Regions from separate parts of the Homo sapiens genome. Here all the other regions are linked to region 1. Evidence: promoter capture Hi-C in 16 types of primary human blood cells and fetal thymus (Javierre and others, 2016). All regions are on one chromosome and are shown on one strand. Each heading gives the region's core, a stretch centred on a gene start or on the middle of the fragment in contact. The rest is flanking DNA. Distances are from core to core; before and after follow the strand shown. Region 1 holds the start of STK26 (serine/threonine kinase 26). Region 2 has its middle 63 kb from the start of HS6ST2-AS1. Region 3 overlaps HS6ST2 (heparan sulfate 6-O-sulfotransferase 2). Region 4 has its middle 84 kb from the start of HS6ST2-AS1.

Evidence for each region. The method cuts DNA at HindIII sites, captures the fragments that hold promoters and counts their contacts. A CHiCAGO score of 5 or more calls a contact.
Region 2: a fragment that was not itself captured here is called in contact with the fragment with the promoter of STK26 in region 1 in 3 of 17 cell types (naive CD4 T cells, total CD4 T cells and naive B cells); the score reaches 6.1 in naive CD4 T cells.
Region 3: a contact is called between a fragment that was not itself captured here and the fragment with the promoter of STK26 in region 1, in 7 of 17 cell types (total B cells, naive B cells, activated CD4 T cells and 4 more). The highest score is 12.4, in total B cells.
Region 4: a contact is called between a fragment that was not itself captured here and the fragment with the promoter of STK26 in region 1, in 1 of 17 cell types (naive B cells). The highest score is 5.5, in naive B cells.

What each region holds. Positions count from the first base shown.
Region 1 is chrX:132,020,340-132,024,619 of GRCh38, forward strand. It overlaps STK26 (serine/threonine kinase 26), which reads left to right and starts at 2,963. Exons shown (of 12, transcript NM_016542.4): 1 at 2,963-3,068; 2 at 3,169-3,320. The coding sequence starts at 3,279. RefSeq lists enhancers at 2,511-3,057, 2,545-2,594, 3,045-3,204, 3,058-3,605, 3,575-3,644 and a silencer at 2,755-3,004. The HindIII fragment of the contact is 2,994 bases long and covers 1,005-3,998 here.
Region 2 is chrX:132,602,829-132,606,811 of GRCh38, forward strand. No RefSeq gene overlaps it. Among named protein-coding and RNA genes, the nearest start is that of HS6ST2-AS1, 63 kb to the right of the region's middle. The HindIII fragment of the contact is 757 bases long and covers 1,798-2,554 here.
Region 3 is chrX:132,622,526-132,626,704 of GRCh38, forward strand. HS6ST2 (heparan sulfate 6-O-sulfotransferase 2) reads right to left here. Exons shown (of 5, transcript NM_001394073.1): 5 at 3,490-4,179. Among named protein-coding and RNA genes, the nearest start is that of HS6ST2-AS1, 43 kb to the right of the region's middle. The HindIII fragment of the contact is 4,887 bases long and covers 1-3,732 here.
Region 4 is chrX:132,581,591-132,585,795 of GRCh38, forward strand. No RefSeq gene overlaps it. Among named protein-coding and RNA genes, the nearest start is that of HS6ST2-AS1, 84 kb to the right of the region's middle. The HindIII fragment of the contact is 245 bases long and covers 2,736-2,980 here.

The DNA.
Region 1 (4,280 bases), core at 1,713-4,212:
CCTGCCTCAGCTTCCAGAGTAGCTGGGATTACAGGCACACACCACCATGTCCAGCTAATTTTTGTATTTTTAGTAGAGATGGGGTTTCGCCATGTTGGCCAGGCTGGTCTCAAACTCCTGACCTCAGGTAACCTGCCCGCCTCGGCCTCCCAAAGTGCTGGGAACAGGGGTGAGGCACCACGCCTGGCCTGGGCTGACAATTTGAAGTAAAATATTTAAGTTTCCTTTGTGTGTGTGTGTAACAAAAGCGTACTTGAATTTCTTGTCATTTTATTTAAGAATTTGAGAAATAATCCAGTTCAAAGTGGAAAAAAAGTTTCTAATGCTCATAAAATTTGAATTGTTTTCAAATGTTGACACCTTCACAAGATTTAATTTATAGATACACACACACACACAGACACAGACACACACACACACACACACAGGAAAAATCATTTAAAAGCCCACAAGCAATCCCATGTAAAAACTCAAGTGATCTCTATCAATTATAACAACAACTGATGCTTTATTTAATAGCAGTAAACCTAAATAAAGGCTAAAAAGCTCACTAAGATCTCAAATGCAATGTCTTTCAGGAAATGTCTCAATATTCCAGGTCTCAGCATTAAGCTTTTATTCTTCCACATAGTTACATAACTCTGGCCCAGAATGATGTCAGAGAAAGTCATTTCTCTGATATGCTTAATTTACTTATCTATCAAAATTATACAACTGGCTCATAAGTAGTTGTGAAATTAAACTAGCAGGAAAGAATTTTGGAGACTAAATAATGAAAGATGTAACACACAATAAACTGAACAATTTAAATGTTCAGTAAGGGCAATGCCTAGGGGTTTAACCTGACATCAATAAAATATATAGTGTATACATTATGCACCTAGTAACCTCAGTGGAGAATTCAAAAGAAGTTCATTCATTCATTCAACAATTATTTATTGAGGGCCTACTACATGCCATGAACCTAGTCTCTGGGGATACAGCAATGGACAAAATGTATAAAAAGCTTGCCCTCAGACTCCTGCCATCCTACCTGAATCATTCTCATGTAAGAGAGGCTGGATCTCTGCCCTCAAGGACCTAATATGGGCACACAAAACAAATGAAATATATGAAATAAGAAGAAAGAACTACAGTGTGAGCGCTGCTCACATTGGAGGAGTTTGAAGGAGGGCTTGGAGCAACTAGGAAGGGTCAATGGAGGTGAGATTTGAGACAGGTCTTAAATGATGGAGCTTGATTCAGACCCTTGCGACTTAAAAGTGTGATCTAAACATCATCACCATGTGAGAGCTTGTTAGCATTGCAGAATCTTGGGCCCAGTCCAGACATGGGAGATAAAAATCTGCGCTTTTGAGGGAGCAAAAGAACCCTCGGATTTCTATGGACATTAAAAGTTTAGGTGGCACTGCAGGTTTCCGGTCAGGCTGGCAATGTTGTGAGCTGGGTTGGTGGGAAATCGAGACTAGATTGGAGCCTAACATTAGGTTAGAAATAGTGAAGGGCTGGACTTGGGGAACTAGGAGTAAGGAAAATGCAATTGTACCTTTTATCATCATTAAACACAAACAGAAACCATAGAGAAAGTAGTAAGTTTATCACCAGTCAGAGGGACCTGCGTCTGAATTCCCAGCTGTACCACTTCTTAATTGCGTGACATTTCGGTCAAATTATTTAACCTGGTTGAGCCTTTTTCTTCATCTGTAAAATGAGGGGAAATCAATAAGACTCCAGAAGGCCCTTGTACAGGTTCAGTAAGGTATTAATAACACATAGAAAGCACTTAGCAGTCCCTGGCACAATGAAAATAATATCCATTAATAATAACGATATTGATAAGAATTATATACTATTCTCTGAAAAAGATTTAAAAGGAAGAAGAGAAACTATCTTTTACCACTAGAGGCCCCCCACCGTGTGGTGCGTAGAGACCCATAACAAATTTCAAGGTAAGGAACTTCATCTTCATTTTAAACTGGCACTCGACTATTACTTTTTTAAAAAGTAATTAACCCCTTACGTGTTCCCAAAGGTGCCTTCATAATGAAATTCCTGTTACTATTATTACCAGTGTTACTGTCGCTACTGTTAGAGTACTCTCAAAAGAGCCTGTCTCCCTCTCCTGGAGTAGAACTTAAAATGGGGCGGAGGCAGGGAGTTACCAAAACCACTGCAGTGTATGCTGATTTCAATAACCTGTACTGCTAACGATCCAATCTCATTTCCCAAGCCTCTACTATCCTCATTAATTTTTCTGCCGATGTACCATCTGTTTTCCAATTTCCCTCTGCCTTACACGTGCAGAACTTGTGGTAGAGAGAAGCCCTAGTTTGGCCGTTCTGCAAGGGATAGCCCAGGAGGTAGGGGGAACCTTAAGTTGAAGTCACCTGAAGCATGTTTGGGGTCAGGGAACTCGGAAAGCAAGAGTGTGGCCACAGATCTGCCCAGAGGCGCGACCCCCAGCTGAGGAGACCAGATGGCGGGAAAAAGCGGGGGTCCACCGACTCCGCGGCTATCTGTAATCCTACCCTTGGCCAGGCCGGGGAGCCAAGAAAGACTTCCAACACTCCCCAAGTTTCAGCTCAAGTCGTCTCCGAGGCTGCGTGTGCCCCAGCCTCGCACGCCTCCCTGCAACGTGGCCGCATCTGGGGCGCCCTCATACCCTCAGGGTTTCCCAAACTCTTCCATTCTCTTCCCAGGCCCAGCCATGTCCCAGGTCTCCGGGTCCCCGGGTTCTCCTCTCCGCGTGCCGGGAGAGTCTCCAGCTTCTCAGACTCCAGCAACCCCAGCCAAACCTCTTCGCTGCCTGGAGCCTTGGCTCCCGCGACACCGCCCGGCTGCGGGGCGGGGGCAGGGCCAACGGCGGAACCGCCCCCAACCGCCTCCCAGGCCAGGCGAGCAGGCGGGTGGCTGGGGCGCCTCCACCTCCTCTTCCTAAAGCGGCGAGGCGCAGAGGAGCGGCATCACTCGAGCCCAGGTCCCAGCCACCACCACTCACAGCGCTCGGCGTTCAGGAAGAGGAGCAGCAGCGGAGGCGGCTGCTTCAGCGGCGGGCGGGCGCCAGAAAGGTAGACTGAGTCCCAGGGAGCTGCGCCGCTAACAGCCCACCTCCTAGCCCCGGGCTACGCGCCGCCAGCCCAGTAACCCCACTTTTGTGTGTCCTCCCAGGCCCCGATCGAAAAGCCTGGGAGGGCCGCCGAACTACCCCCGGAGGGAGGAGCCAGTCCGAACCCAAGGCGCCACCGCCGCAGAAGCGGAGCGAGGCAGCATTCGCCTCCATGGCCCACTCGCCGGTGGCTGTCCAAGTGCCTGGGATGCAGGTGAGGAAGCGCAGGCCGCCCCCGCCGCCCACGTGACTGCTTGGGAGCCCGGTGCGCCCTCGGTGCTGGGCACCGGCGACAAGGGACGGCCCCAGGGCTCCCCTGAGGGCAGGGCCGGTCACTATGGCCAGGTGACCTGGGAGTAGGGCTGGAGGTGTTTCCTGGTGTGTAGGCTAGGTAGTGCTCTTCGCTGGGAAGGCGAGGCGGGACTGGAGCGCGCAACTAGGTGGAGATTGAGGGCGGTTGGGGGTATAAAAATAGGCCAGAGCCACAGACACCTGCGCCTGCTGAGCTTGGCACGGTTGGGGATGGGGGGGCGGAACTTAACCTGGGAGAGATGGAAGTGCCTTGGAATTTGTGGGGTATAACGCGAGTAGTGAGTGCCCTACACCCCCCACCCCAAACACACACTCAAGTTGGGGCGGGGCAACACCAGGGGTGGCGGCGGCGGCGGCTTGAATTGGGCTCTTCCTGTGTGCGTAGGGCTAAGAGAGAGGTGACCTCTTTCTCCCTTTCGGTACTGCTGCTTAAGGGCAAAGTTGTAGCTTGCTCCCCGACCTAGCCCAGCCCATAGTGTGGCGTGAGAAATGCTGGTTCTGTTCAGAGTCACTGAGGTGATGACTTCTCAGCCCCCTCCGTGCCTTTCCCACAAGATGACTGTTACATGTGGTTAAAGGAAGCTTTTTGTCTTGGACAAGGGACTACTGCATGGGACCCAACTTGTTACTCGAAGTCTACCCAGCCCAACCCCCTCCCATTATATTTTCATTTTATTAAAGATAAGCTATGTCAGAAAACTTTTTATGCTGTTATGTTTTTAAATCGGTGCATTTTAGGCTATCTGCTAAGTGTTATCCAAATTTACTAACTTTTTAAAGCATTCATGTTCTATTTTTTTTTCCTTTGCTAGATGGCCTAAACAACCCATTTAGGGGCTAAAACCACTGAAGCCTCAGTCTT
Region 2 (3,983 bases), core at 926-3,425, 580 kb after region 1:
CGATAATTTGGACACAACCCCTTACCCAAGTCCACCCCATCCAGCACCACTTCCCATCCTGGAGTGAGAGTCAGGGCTGGTGAAGGCCAAAGTCACTGCCTAGCAAGCAGGTTGAGTAAATAAAGCCTGAGGTCCTCACATAGACATATCACTGGCAGGAAAAGCTGCCGTGAGTCTGTTCCTGGTGTGATTATTCTAGTAATTCAGAGGAAAAGTTGTGAATTAAATTAACTCGTTTTTGTTTTTGTTTTTGTTTTTTGACAGAGTCTTGCTCTGTCGCCAGGCTGGAGTGCAGTGGCACGATCTCGGCTCACTGCAACCTCTGCCTCCCGGGTTTAAGCGATTCTCCTGCCTCAGCTTCCCGAGTAGCTGGGACTATAGGTGCACGCCACCATGCCTAGCTAATTTTTTGTATTTTTAGTAGAAGTGGGGTTTCACCATGTTGGCCAGGATGGTCCCGATCTCCTGACCTCGTGATGTGCCCAGATCGGCCTCCCAAAGTGCTGGGATTACAGACGTGAGTCACTGTGCCCAGCTGACTTGACTTTAAATGTTGCTATTAATTAGTTATGTGACCTTCAACAAATACCTAACTTCCCTGGGGTGAAAAAATAGGACCTACTTCATAGAGTAGTTATGAGAATGAAATAAAATAATCTATACCTGGTGTTTGGCACAAATTGTGTGTTCAATAAATGTTAGCTCTTATTATAATTATTGGCAGGGACTGTGGTGATATTTGAGAGTAATGACTTTGACCAAAGAGCTGGAAAGACTGATGCTATCTAACATCAGGGTCAGCATGTAGCTGTTCAATCAGGCTGGCCTTCAGGTAAAATTGGCTAATTTCATAGACTATAGTGAGCTAGGACATCTGCAATTTGAAAATGAAAAATATTTCCTATGAAGCCTATGAAGCCTTAGTTGTCGGTATCCAAAAGGTACATTTGGTTCCTGCCAGCCCCTGGGGTTCAGCTGGACCAAATGGCTTCAAAAAGGTATAGATGGCAGTTCAGGGTCATTATGGACTAGCTTCCTGGTCTGATGGCTAAATAGTAACCTGCAATGCGACATGTACAGTAGGCCTCTGACCCCAGCCCCAATTTACTCCCTTGTTAATCAGTGCGTTAGTTTGGGACCTGCAAGAAGTAGATACAGAGACCGGATTAAGTGTTCAATGATTTCACTGGGGGAAACGTGTGAGAGAAAATGGGACTAGAGCCAGAGAGGCCCAGAGTGGCCTCAGACTGCAATGTAAGTCTGACCTTGAAAAATCAAACAGAGAGAGATCAAACAGCAGAGTACGGCAGCTGGAGCCCTTGGTCAAGGATGTTCTCTGTAGTTGGAACAGCAATGCACATTACCATGGTGGCCACAATGAATGACATGGAAGAAATATCTAAAAGACAAAATGATCAAGTTTGCAGATGACACTGGGATGCAATGCTTAGAATCTGGTCTTGCAAGGTTTTGAATGTGTTCTTTTTCAAAGCTGAACATATACAAGAGCTCCTTATATGATCCCATTAGCTTCTTGGGATGCCTCCCCCTATTCTTTCATTGCAGTTGTATAATCAGAATTATATTTTGACAGGTATGAGAAATTATGCTGCGGAGAAATACTTGACAGCAGGTATTAAAAGGTATTCAAGTTATATTTTGAATTTAAAGAAAACAGGTTAAAAACTGTCTTTACAGCATGATTTTCATTTTCTTAAAAATTACACATGCATAGGAAAAAATAAAGAAACAGATAAACATAAAAATATCAAAAGTGGCTATATTTAATGTCTTTTAAGCTTCTTTTTGTGTCTCTGCGGTTTCTATTTTTCCAGTGTATTACTTCTGAGATATTCCCAATGCTGTGGAGTGATCTTCCCTTTCAAAATCCCCTGTACTTGTATAAGTGGACCTTCCAAGGGCTGGGTATGCCTCTCACTGGCTCAGCCTTTCTGAGAAAGGATGAAATGAAAAAGTGGTTTATCTCAAGTCTTGTCACCATTTCAACTACCTTTTTAGCTTTTTGCCTCTTGACTTGCTTCTGACCACTGAGAATTGCTAACTCCCTGCCTAGGTCACCATGTCCCCCTGCTGTCCAGACACTCAGCTTTACTTAACTTGAAGCTGCTATGGGATTAGTCCCCTTTGGACCTATTAGTAGTAATAATATCATTCATACATTTCCCTCACTCCTCTGTTTCCTAGAAACAATAATAATGTCTAACATTTAATTGAGTGCTCACCACATGCCAGACACTGTGCTAAATACTTTAAATGTATTGACTCATTAAATTCTCTCTATAACTCTGTAATGTTGGTACTATTATTATCCATATTTTACAGATAAGGAAACTGAGACAATGGGGAGTGAATTAAGTGGGCCAAACTCACTCAGCCAGTGAGTGGCAGGGCCAGGATGCTTGCCTACCTTTGCCTGGGGGATTTTTTTTTTACTTGCACTCACAAATAAGATTTATCACAGCTAAAGGATACAATGCAAAACCTGCAAAGGGAAAAGGCATGAGAAGGGAGGTCTTAGAGGAAGCCATGTACAAGCTTCCAAGAGTCCTCTCCCTGTGGAGACACATAGGACGTGCTTCATTTTCAGCATTAAATTTAGAAAACATACATGAAATGTTGTTTACCTGCCTGGAGGATTGATTGCCTGTTGTTTCTTGATCCTGCCTCAGAATGGTCCTATCAACTGCCACTGGCCCACATCCAAGTGTGAAAGATCTATATGCAACATTTCTTCAGGCAAGGTACCCCAAGAAGCATCCAGCTGTGACTTTGAGAAAGTTATCTACATCCTCTGAGTCTCAGTTTTCCCATCTGTAGACAGGATTAATATTCCTTTGCAGAGTTCTGAAGATGATTGAATGGAAAAAGGTATGAGAGACAACTGATGCCAATTCCCAACACAGGACAGTACTCATTGAGGAGAAAGCTGAAGAAGACATGGAAATAGTCACCTTTAGTTAATGGAAGAGGGGACTCACCTATGAGCACTTTGAAACATTCATTTTCAGAATTCAAAAAAGCACGAGACTGTTCAGAATGGATTTTCAGAGTAGCAGCTTTCAAGGTTTGGGCATTTGAAATTTTAAACAGTGGATTCTGGATATTAGCCCTTGTCATTCTCAGCAAACTAACACAGGAACAGAAAACCAAACACTGCAGGTTCTCACTCATAAGTGGGAGTTGAACAGTGAGAACACATGGACACAGGGAGAGGAATGTCACACACCAGGGCCTGTTGGGGGGCGGGGGACTAGGGGAGGGATAGCATGAGGGGAAATACCTAATGTAGGTGACGGGTTGATGGGTGCAGCAAACCAACATGGCATGTGTATACCTACGTAACAAACCAGCACATTCTGCACATGTATCCCAAAACTTAAAGTATAATTTAAAAAAAAAGAAATTTTAAACAGTGAAGGAACCACATGACTAACGCCTTGTTGGGAAATGTACTGTCATTCAGGTCAATGCAGAGTGCGATGGAAGCATGAAGAAGCTTCCATAAATGAGGAGACCAGAGAAAGGGCCTAAGAAAATTCCCTGGAGGATGTTCACATTGAATTGTGAAGGGTGAGGAGAGCTGATCAAGAAAGGGGGTTAAGGCATTCCAGATACAGGAAACCACATGCACAAAGGCCCAGAGACAAAAATGGCATCGTCATTGTCATTGTCATCATCATCATTCTTCCTATCTTTTGAGTACCTTCTATGTGCTAGACACTATAGTAGGTGCTTTCTATGTTATTTGAAATCCCCACATAACGTTATAAAGTAAGCATCCTTCTACACATCTTACAGATAAGGATACTGCGATCTTAAGAGGTTCAGGTGATCCATGTAAGTAGTAAAGCTGGAACTGGAGAGCCCAGGCATGCAGACTCCAAATCCCAAACTCATTCTGCTGTATGGAGACCCTCCTTTGGAACATGAAAAGCCATGATGAATTTGCGGAACTGTAGAAT
Region 3 (4,179 bases), core at 39-2,538, 600 kb after region 1:
ATTTGATTATGTTACATTTGAAACACATTTGTTTTATTTTTTAGAAAGGTTTCCTTAAATTAGTCACAACAGGAAATATACTCTTTTTCTTGCAAATATTTTTAATTCTTGATCTCAGAGTCAGTCTTTAGCTACTGAAGATATAGGAATTCAGCAGACATCTAGTCCTTATGCTAATAACAGTAATAATGATTATTATAATACTATCAAACACATATAAAGTTTATTTTATCATGCCTGTAATCTCGGAACTTTGGGAGGCCATGGTGGGAGGATTGAGCTCAGGAGTTCCAGATCAGCCTGGGCAACATAATGAGACCTTATCTCTACTAAAATTGTAAAAAATTAGCTGGCAGTGGTAGCGTGCACCTGTAGTCCCAGCTACTCGAGAGGCTGAGGCTGAAGGATCAGTTGAGCTCAAGAGGTTGAGGCTGCTATGAACTATGATCACACCACTGCACTCTGACCTCAGTGACAGAGTGAGAGTCTGTCTCTAAAAAAATAAAAATGAAAAGTAAAGTTTATTCTATATCAGGCACAGTGTTAAGTGCTTTACAGATACTAACTCATTTAATCCTCACAACAACTCTCTGAAGTTACAGCTTTTATTTTCTCCATTTATAGGTGAAGAAACTGAGGCATGGAGAGGTTAGAGACTTTCTCAAGGTCACAGAGCTGGTAAATGGTGGAGCTGGGATTCAAACCCAGGCAGCATGCATATAGAGTCTATACTCTCAACCTATAACATCAGCAGTAATCAATTTTGTTGGGATAAACCATCCACTATATTCCTGTTTTGGAAGGGAATCCATGATACACTGCTGAACTTTTTCATAAAAAAAAAAAGAAATCAGGTAACAATGAGAACAATATGGTTTTATCCTTTTAAATAAATATATGTGTTTGTGTGTGCGGTTGGGTTGGAGGAAGAGCAGGAGGGAAGGGGGAGGGGGAGAGATAGCAGATTTGAATGTGGCTAGGACAAGGAGGTCTGGAGGAAATCATAATCACAGTAGTTATTTTGGGGAAGTGGGAGTTGTATAGGTAATTTCACTTTTTACTTTACATACTTATATATTGTTTTAATTTTTAAAAGCATGTGATAAAACACATACACACACGCACACACTCCAAGGAACTGGCAGGCATCAGCTATGTAAGACTAATGAAGAACTAATTAAGCTCTCACCTATAATTACTGACACAGCATGTGGCTGGGATTTCTGCAATCCTGAGAGAAAAGACCAGGTTCTCCCGTGCTTTCAGGCCTAAAAGCAGTGACTCTCACATAGTAGGTACTCAGTAAATGTTGTTTGTGGTGATATGGTATTGGAAAGTATGTTGTTTGAATCACATCCTTTTATTCTCTCAGACTCTGGGGTCATTATAAACTCCGCCAAGTTTTCAATACTTAGGAAATTTTGATCTGCTCTCTCGTTCCAGGGCTGACCAACTTTTTCTTTGGGGGGCAAGAAAATAAGTATTTTAGGCTTTTGGGGCCATAAGATCTCTGTTGCAACGACTCCTGCCACTGTTGCATGAGAGCAGCCAGGGAAAATATGCAAAGAAATGGGCGTGCTGTGTTCCAATAATACTATATTTACAAAAGCAGGCAGAGGGCTGCATTTGGCCCCAGGACAGTAGTTTTTGGACCCTGCTCTAGCTGCTCAGAACAGTGCCATTTGTACTGAGAAACAGCTCATTTGCTTTGTTTTCAGGATAGTTTTCTCCTGAAGTTCTGAGGGCTTTGCCCATTTGTGAAGGTCTGAGGGATGTACCTTGGAAATTGTGAGGTGTTGATCAAATTCCTTGGACACTTAAAACTGTCAGGCGGCCTCATTCTTGCCAAGTGAGAGATTTGAGTTGCCTTATTCCACAGTCCCAGAGGGTTACTTTCAGAGTCAGCATACTCTGTGTTTTTGCTAGAACTTTCTACAAAGTACTCGGCTTTTGTTTCTTTGCTTGGTTCAATCTCTAGAGAAGACAAGAGAGAAGAAACTTCCAGTCCACCTCTGATGGCCATTTGTGCAAAAGGAATATGCTGTCTCCCCTTTCCCAACTTTCAGTGTCAAAAGCAGTGTCTTCAGGTCAATGAATGCAAGAAAGCTGTGGGTTGCACATCGCCAACCTGGAATATTCTGTGGTTCTCTTCTGTGACTCAGACCCAGCATGCAAGTTTTATGCTTCTTTTTACCCCCGTACTCCACCCATGGAAGGAAACCATCCTTCCCATTGTGACAGCTTTATTAGACCCATCACCCAAAGGTAGTTCTGGTTGTACTTGGTTATCACCCCTATTGAGAATCCTAATTAAGTCCTGAGGAACCGAGCCAATTCGTTGTTTCTTCATTTTAGCTCCTCCCTGGGCTGCCTCAATAGCTCATTTCCTTAGCAGGTTTCCTATCTTTTCTCCACTACAGTTAGAGCGCCCTGCTCTCCATGAGTACCTACCCTCCTCAGGGGAAAAGGGAACCAAACTTTATTTCTGAAATATTTCAAGTTCTTGGACTTTATGTTCCTGTTCACAGATCCTCCCAAGGGGGTGTAGGATCTTTATACAATCAGGCCCTTTGGCAGCCCAAATATTGATCAAGAAGCAGTTGACAGGCAAAACCATGTAAGCTGATATGGTTAGACTTTTTGTCCCCACCCAAATCTCATCTTGAATTGTAATCCCCATAATCCCCATGTGTCAAGGGAGAGACCAGGTGGAGGTGATTGAATCATGAGGGTGGTTTCCCCTTTGCTGTTCTTGTGATAGTGAGTTCTCACGAGATCTGATGGTTTTATAAGGGGCTCTTCCCCCTTCACTCAGCACTTCTCCTTCCTGCCACCTTGTGAAGAAGATGCCTTGCTTTTCCTTCACTTTCTGCCATGATTGTGAGTTTCCTGAGGCCTCCTCAACCATGCAGAACTGTGAGTCAATTAAACCTCTTTCCTTTATAAATTACCCAGTCTCAGGCAGTTCTTTATAGCAGTATGAAAATGGACTTATACAATACATATGAATAGTTTACAGGCTAAGGCTACTTAACTACATCTCCAACCAAATTTGTAGCTTTCTTCCTCTAACCCCTTGGGACTGACATTTAAAGTCTCTTTGGAAAAGCGCAAGGACAAATCATACCCCACTCCCCCATAGTGCTAACTATAAGAGTTTGTTTGAAAAAATGTGCACATTTTGTGTTTGGGACTTTAAAAACCAATACATTAATGCTTACATTTAAACTCTACCCTGTGGATAGAAGGGAGAATGAAGAGCACCATTGTGGGTTGGACACGCTTGTACAAAAAACATGGACTCCCAGAAGGAATCACCCCAAATTAAGGCCATTTTAGTGTGAGGGATTAGAATGGGCCATCTAATTTTCATACCTGGCTGCCAAGAGGATAAAAGGAAATGTCTTGTTGAAAAAAATTCTGTTCTGGTTTGTGAGATCACAATGTCTAGCAGCTGCAAATCTTGAAATTATGAGATTACTCAGAGCCTGTAATTTAAACTTTATTTCATATCTATTGTTAAATTACACAAAATCAGTGAATGGTTTGTAAAGCTACACCAATGGACAGATGTTTACAGTTGAAATCATGGGATTTACATAATGGCAAAAATGTATATGTATATTTATAACATCCTCTATATACAATAATCAGTATAGACAGAGAAAATGCACTTAATCTTTGCAAATCATGCACACCACAGCAATAACACAAAATGTTTTTTCTGTAACAAGCTTTTCCACTGGCTCAGGCTTCATCCTGCTTTCCAACAATACCTATCAGTTTTAAAAGCAAACATTTTCAATTAAAACTAAAGAAAATTGAAATACCATAGTGATCTACTAACTATTTTAAAAACACAATTGTACACAAAATAGTTTTACTCTAAAACACTGTGACTTCAAGGTGTGGAAAAATTCCTTTCAGTTTTTTAGCTCTCAGGATTTTCAAGACTGCAATACTGTCAGACAAAACAAAAGCTAGAAATACTGATACAAGCTCAGAGTCAAGAAAATCTATTTTAAACCCAAATACCCAGCTTCTTGTCCAGTTTGTGGCTATATTACTACAGATGAAACACATGAGCAGATTGTACAAGATGTGACTTTATGGTCACACTTCTAAGCATGTCCCTTGTGAAAACATAAATGCCACTTTCAGTCACCTTGTTTGATTTAC
Region 4 (4,205 bases), core at 1,608-4,107, 560 kb after region 1:
AGCTCCACTAAGCCCCAAATCCATGCTACCTTAACCACCCACCACACTGCTCCCTCTCTGAATCCCAACTCCATGAAGAAATGCTCCTCTGGTAAGATGTTGCACTTAGTTTTCCTCCATTAAGCACAACTTCCATTCCTGCCTCTAACCCCCATTTCCCAACCACACTAGACTGGCCTTTCACCTTCTACTTACTTTGTCTTTTTTTCTGTTCACAAAGTCCCATAACATTCTTCTGCTTATAATTAATTCTATGTAGCCTGGACTCCATTAATTACCATTTTAGTTCTTTGCTATTCCTTACTATTCTGCTGTGCTTGACTCTTTTCCCAAATTAACCCCATTGCTCTCTGTCTACTACTCCTGTTTCCTGGAGGCACATTATGATTGGTTGTAAGAAAGCATGAATGCATTCTAATTTGGACCAATTATTCCTTCCGAAGAATAACGACTGTTACCTGTCTAACAAGTCACTAGTATGGTGCCTGACACATATTTGAGACACTATGAATGTGACTTCCTTCCCTGTTCCTTCTTATTCTTTCTCTTGTTGACTCTTGTCCACACACTCTTTAATTGCTATTTCTAATCTTTTCCATGCAACTCATGTCTCACATGTTCCGCCCACTAAGCTCTCTCATTCACTTACTTGTCCTTCTCTGTTCCTAAGAAGATAGCAGCAATGCAACATGAGTTTTTTAACCTATCCCCTCAATACCTATGCCCATCTTCTAAGGCCTTTCCTTATATCTAAAGGATATCAATCCTGCCCTCTCAGTACAGTATTACATTTCCTTCAGTTCACTGACAAACTCCTAGATTGACTGGTTAGCAACAGTTCCATTATGGAGTGGTAGTTTCACAAGGCCTAAATGTAGGTTGGTGTAAAAGTTCATGTGGTGAAAGGAAGTGGTCTCTGCCTCTATTGTCTTTTCTTTGCATCATCTATATGCTTGCCATATAATAGACATTTAATAAATATTTATTGAGCAAATTAATGTACTACATATTATGTCACTGGTTTCGTGTACTTTTGACACTTCTGTGATGTTTCCAAGCATCACATCATTTTCCTCATCATTTGGGAGATCAGAATGTGGAAATTCCCCCTCCTTTTTCCTCAACAACCACCCTCGTGCTACACCTGTAACTTAAAGCTCTTTATGCAAAAACAGACATGTCTGATTCCACGTAGTGAACAGAAGATTACATATAGATTAAAAATCAAAAGAAAATGAACTCTGCTCCAGTGTTAGAAAATACAGCCAATGATAGATAAAACCAGAATATCAGGAATGATGACACAATGCAGTGGCAAATGTTTGAAGAATGGAATAAGGTGCTAGCATTCCTTTCCTGAGATAAAGGTAAATGGATAGTTGCTCAGGAAGTCTTCTATGTACTTTATCACAAGCTAGATGAAGTATGCTGTGTAAGTTTTTTAGAAGAGTCTTCAAGAAAACTTTAGATGATTAATGTAAATATCTACAGCCATGGTTAGCAGAATAAACCTTTTTCTGAATAATATAACAAAATCTTTCTGGTAAAGAAAAGCATGTAAGATATTTCCTTTTGCTTCTGGGAACCAAGAAGCAAGAAGGAAGAAATGGTTTAGACACTGAAATGTTAAAATTTAGGAGACATTTCCATGGCCTTGTGAGAGCTGCAGATTTGAACTTGGAAGGCAGCTTAATGGACTAGAAAGAACATGAGTGTCAGGGCTGGACGAGGCATTTAATTCTGGCTTTGCCATTTAGGCTTTTACCTTGAGCACATTCTGAGGAAGAACAAAAAAAGGTGCCTCTTAGTGACTTACAGGAGCACAGTTTCATGGCCTATAATAATGGAGGTGGCCTGAGATGATTTCTTGTTTAGATAGGAAAAGAATGAGGTTTGTGCTGAGTGAGCGCAACGACCTACGTCAAAGCAAACTATTTAGAACCAATTTGGTGGTATCCAGTACTACTTCAGAGATCACAAACCAGTTCCATTACTGCTTGATAGAATCAAAGATGTTCAGTGGCATCAGAAAGGGAGTGTAAGAGATTTTATATCTATGCATTCACAAGGACTTCTAAAAGCCTCTGGGCCTTTCCAGCAGCTCTCACTGGGTGATGCAATTAAAATCTGTGTGAATTAAAAAAAATAAAATTCTTTAAAACTACTCCTCTCAAAATGTTGACAGTAAATGTTTTATCACCCTTGACTCCCTCTTGCTATGTTTTGCTAAGGTCCTTAAACCTTGTTTTCCACACTGTTAGGTTGTAGAGAGTCATTTCTGCTTGCCTTTGACATGCATAGTGAGGTAACCACTATGTGCATAGTGAGGTGACCACTATTCAAAGGCAAGCAGAATAATAAGCATACAATAAAAGAGCTTCATAAAGAATCAGGTCTTGGCCGAGCATGATAGTTTATGCCTGTAATCTCAGTGCTTTGGGAGGCTTAGACAGGAGGATCACTTGAGCCCAGGAGCTCAAGACCAGCTGGACAACATAGCAAGACTCTAAAACAAGCTGAAAAAAAATTAGCCTGGCATGGTGATGCATGCCTGTAGTCCCAAATATACTCCGGAGGCTGAGGCAGGAGGATCCCTTGAGCCCAGAAGTTCAAGGTTACAATGAGCTAAATTTCACCACTGCACTCCAGCCTGGGTGACAGAGTGCGACCCTGTCTCAAAAATTTTTTTAATTTAATTTAAATTTTAAAAAGAACCAGAACTTGACTTCTACCCAAGCTTCTGTGACCACATTCACCAAAATATCAAATAAAAATCAGGTAAGCTGTATGACAGAGGTCTTGTGTGCTGCTTCTGAGTGTGACAAGTGAGGGATGCAACTTGTACATGGAAATGTTTGAACTTGGGGGCCATTCCCATGATATATAGACACAGATAACAGGGGTTTAAAATCCAGAGTCAGTTTTCTATGGTAGCAGAGAGTAAGGGCATGTGGACAGAGCCAGACATTGGAGCCACTGAAGCTTGGGTTTGAATTCTAGCACTCCTACATACTAGCTGAGTTATCTGTGCTTTAATTCCTTCATCTATCCACATGGACATATTGCTACCTAACTCCAAGGTTTGTTTTTGGGACTAAATAATTTGATATTTATAAAGGGCCTGCCCTGTAATAAGTGCACCATAATTATTAGTTTATGTGTTCACTCATGTATTCGTTCAATAAATATTTATCGAGCACTTGCTATGTGTGGCAATCACTGTACTAGGCATTGAAACTCAGACAAATGAGATAGAGTGTCTGTTCTTAAGGAGGTCACAATGAAGACAAGGAGACCAAGAAATAGACAATTTAGTTACAGTGTGGAAAATACCACAATATAAATCTGTGCATATGCTGTTAGGAAGGAACAAAAGAGAGATTAGGGCAGGCTTCCCAAAGCAGGTGATGAGCCTTAAAGGTTAATTGGGAGCTCTTCCAAGTTAAGAAGAGGAGAAAGGCATTCCATAGATAGAAGTAACATGAGCAAAGCCTCAGGGGTGAGAAAGGTGAGAAACAACATAGTACGTGCAGGAGACTACCAGCATTTGGATATTGCCAAAACATAGTATATGAGGGAGGAGGTTGCCGGAGGTGAGAATGGGGATACGGGCAGGGAAGGTATTGGCAGGCCCTCTTTAATCTTCTCCTCCATCCTTTCTTGGAAAATTCAGAACATGTAATTATAGTAGTTATCGCCAGAGGAGCAGAAGGCTATTCCTCTCCTGACTGTTTTTATGGTACATCCGGTAAATAGAAGGGTCATTTTGAGACCACCTACCCGCATTGCCACTTGGCAATCATGAGTACCAGAATGTGTGGAAGAAGAAAACAATTATTTTGGTTTTTTTTTTCCTCTCTCTCTCGGGCAAGGGCAGAAGATTTAAAAGCTGTGAAGTTAAGCTCTCATCAAAGTAGAACTTAGGTAATTAAAAGTGTGGACTCTGGATTCAGACAGACCTGCATTTTAAATTTGCCTTACTATATGTCTTATTATCTCGAGATAGTTATTTAAACCTCCAGGCCTTAGTTTTTCCAGCTGTAAAATGAGTTTAATGAAATGATGCATGTAAAGCAATTAGCACAGTGGTAGGCACATACAAATGCACTATATCAACGTGCTATTGCAATTGTCTGAACACAGTTGGCCAAGATTGTCATAGAAAAGCAATGAGCCTTGAATTTGGACTGGTTATCCCAGTGATG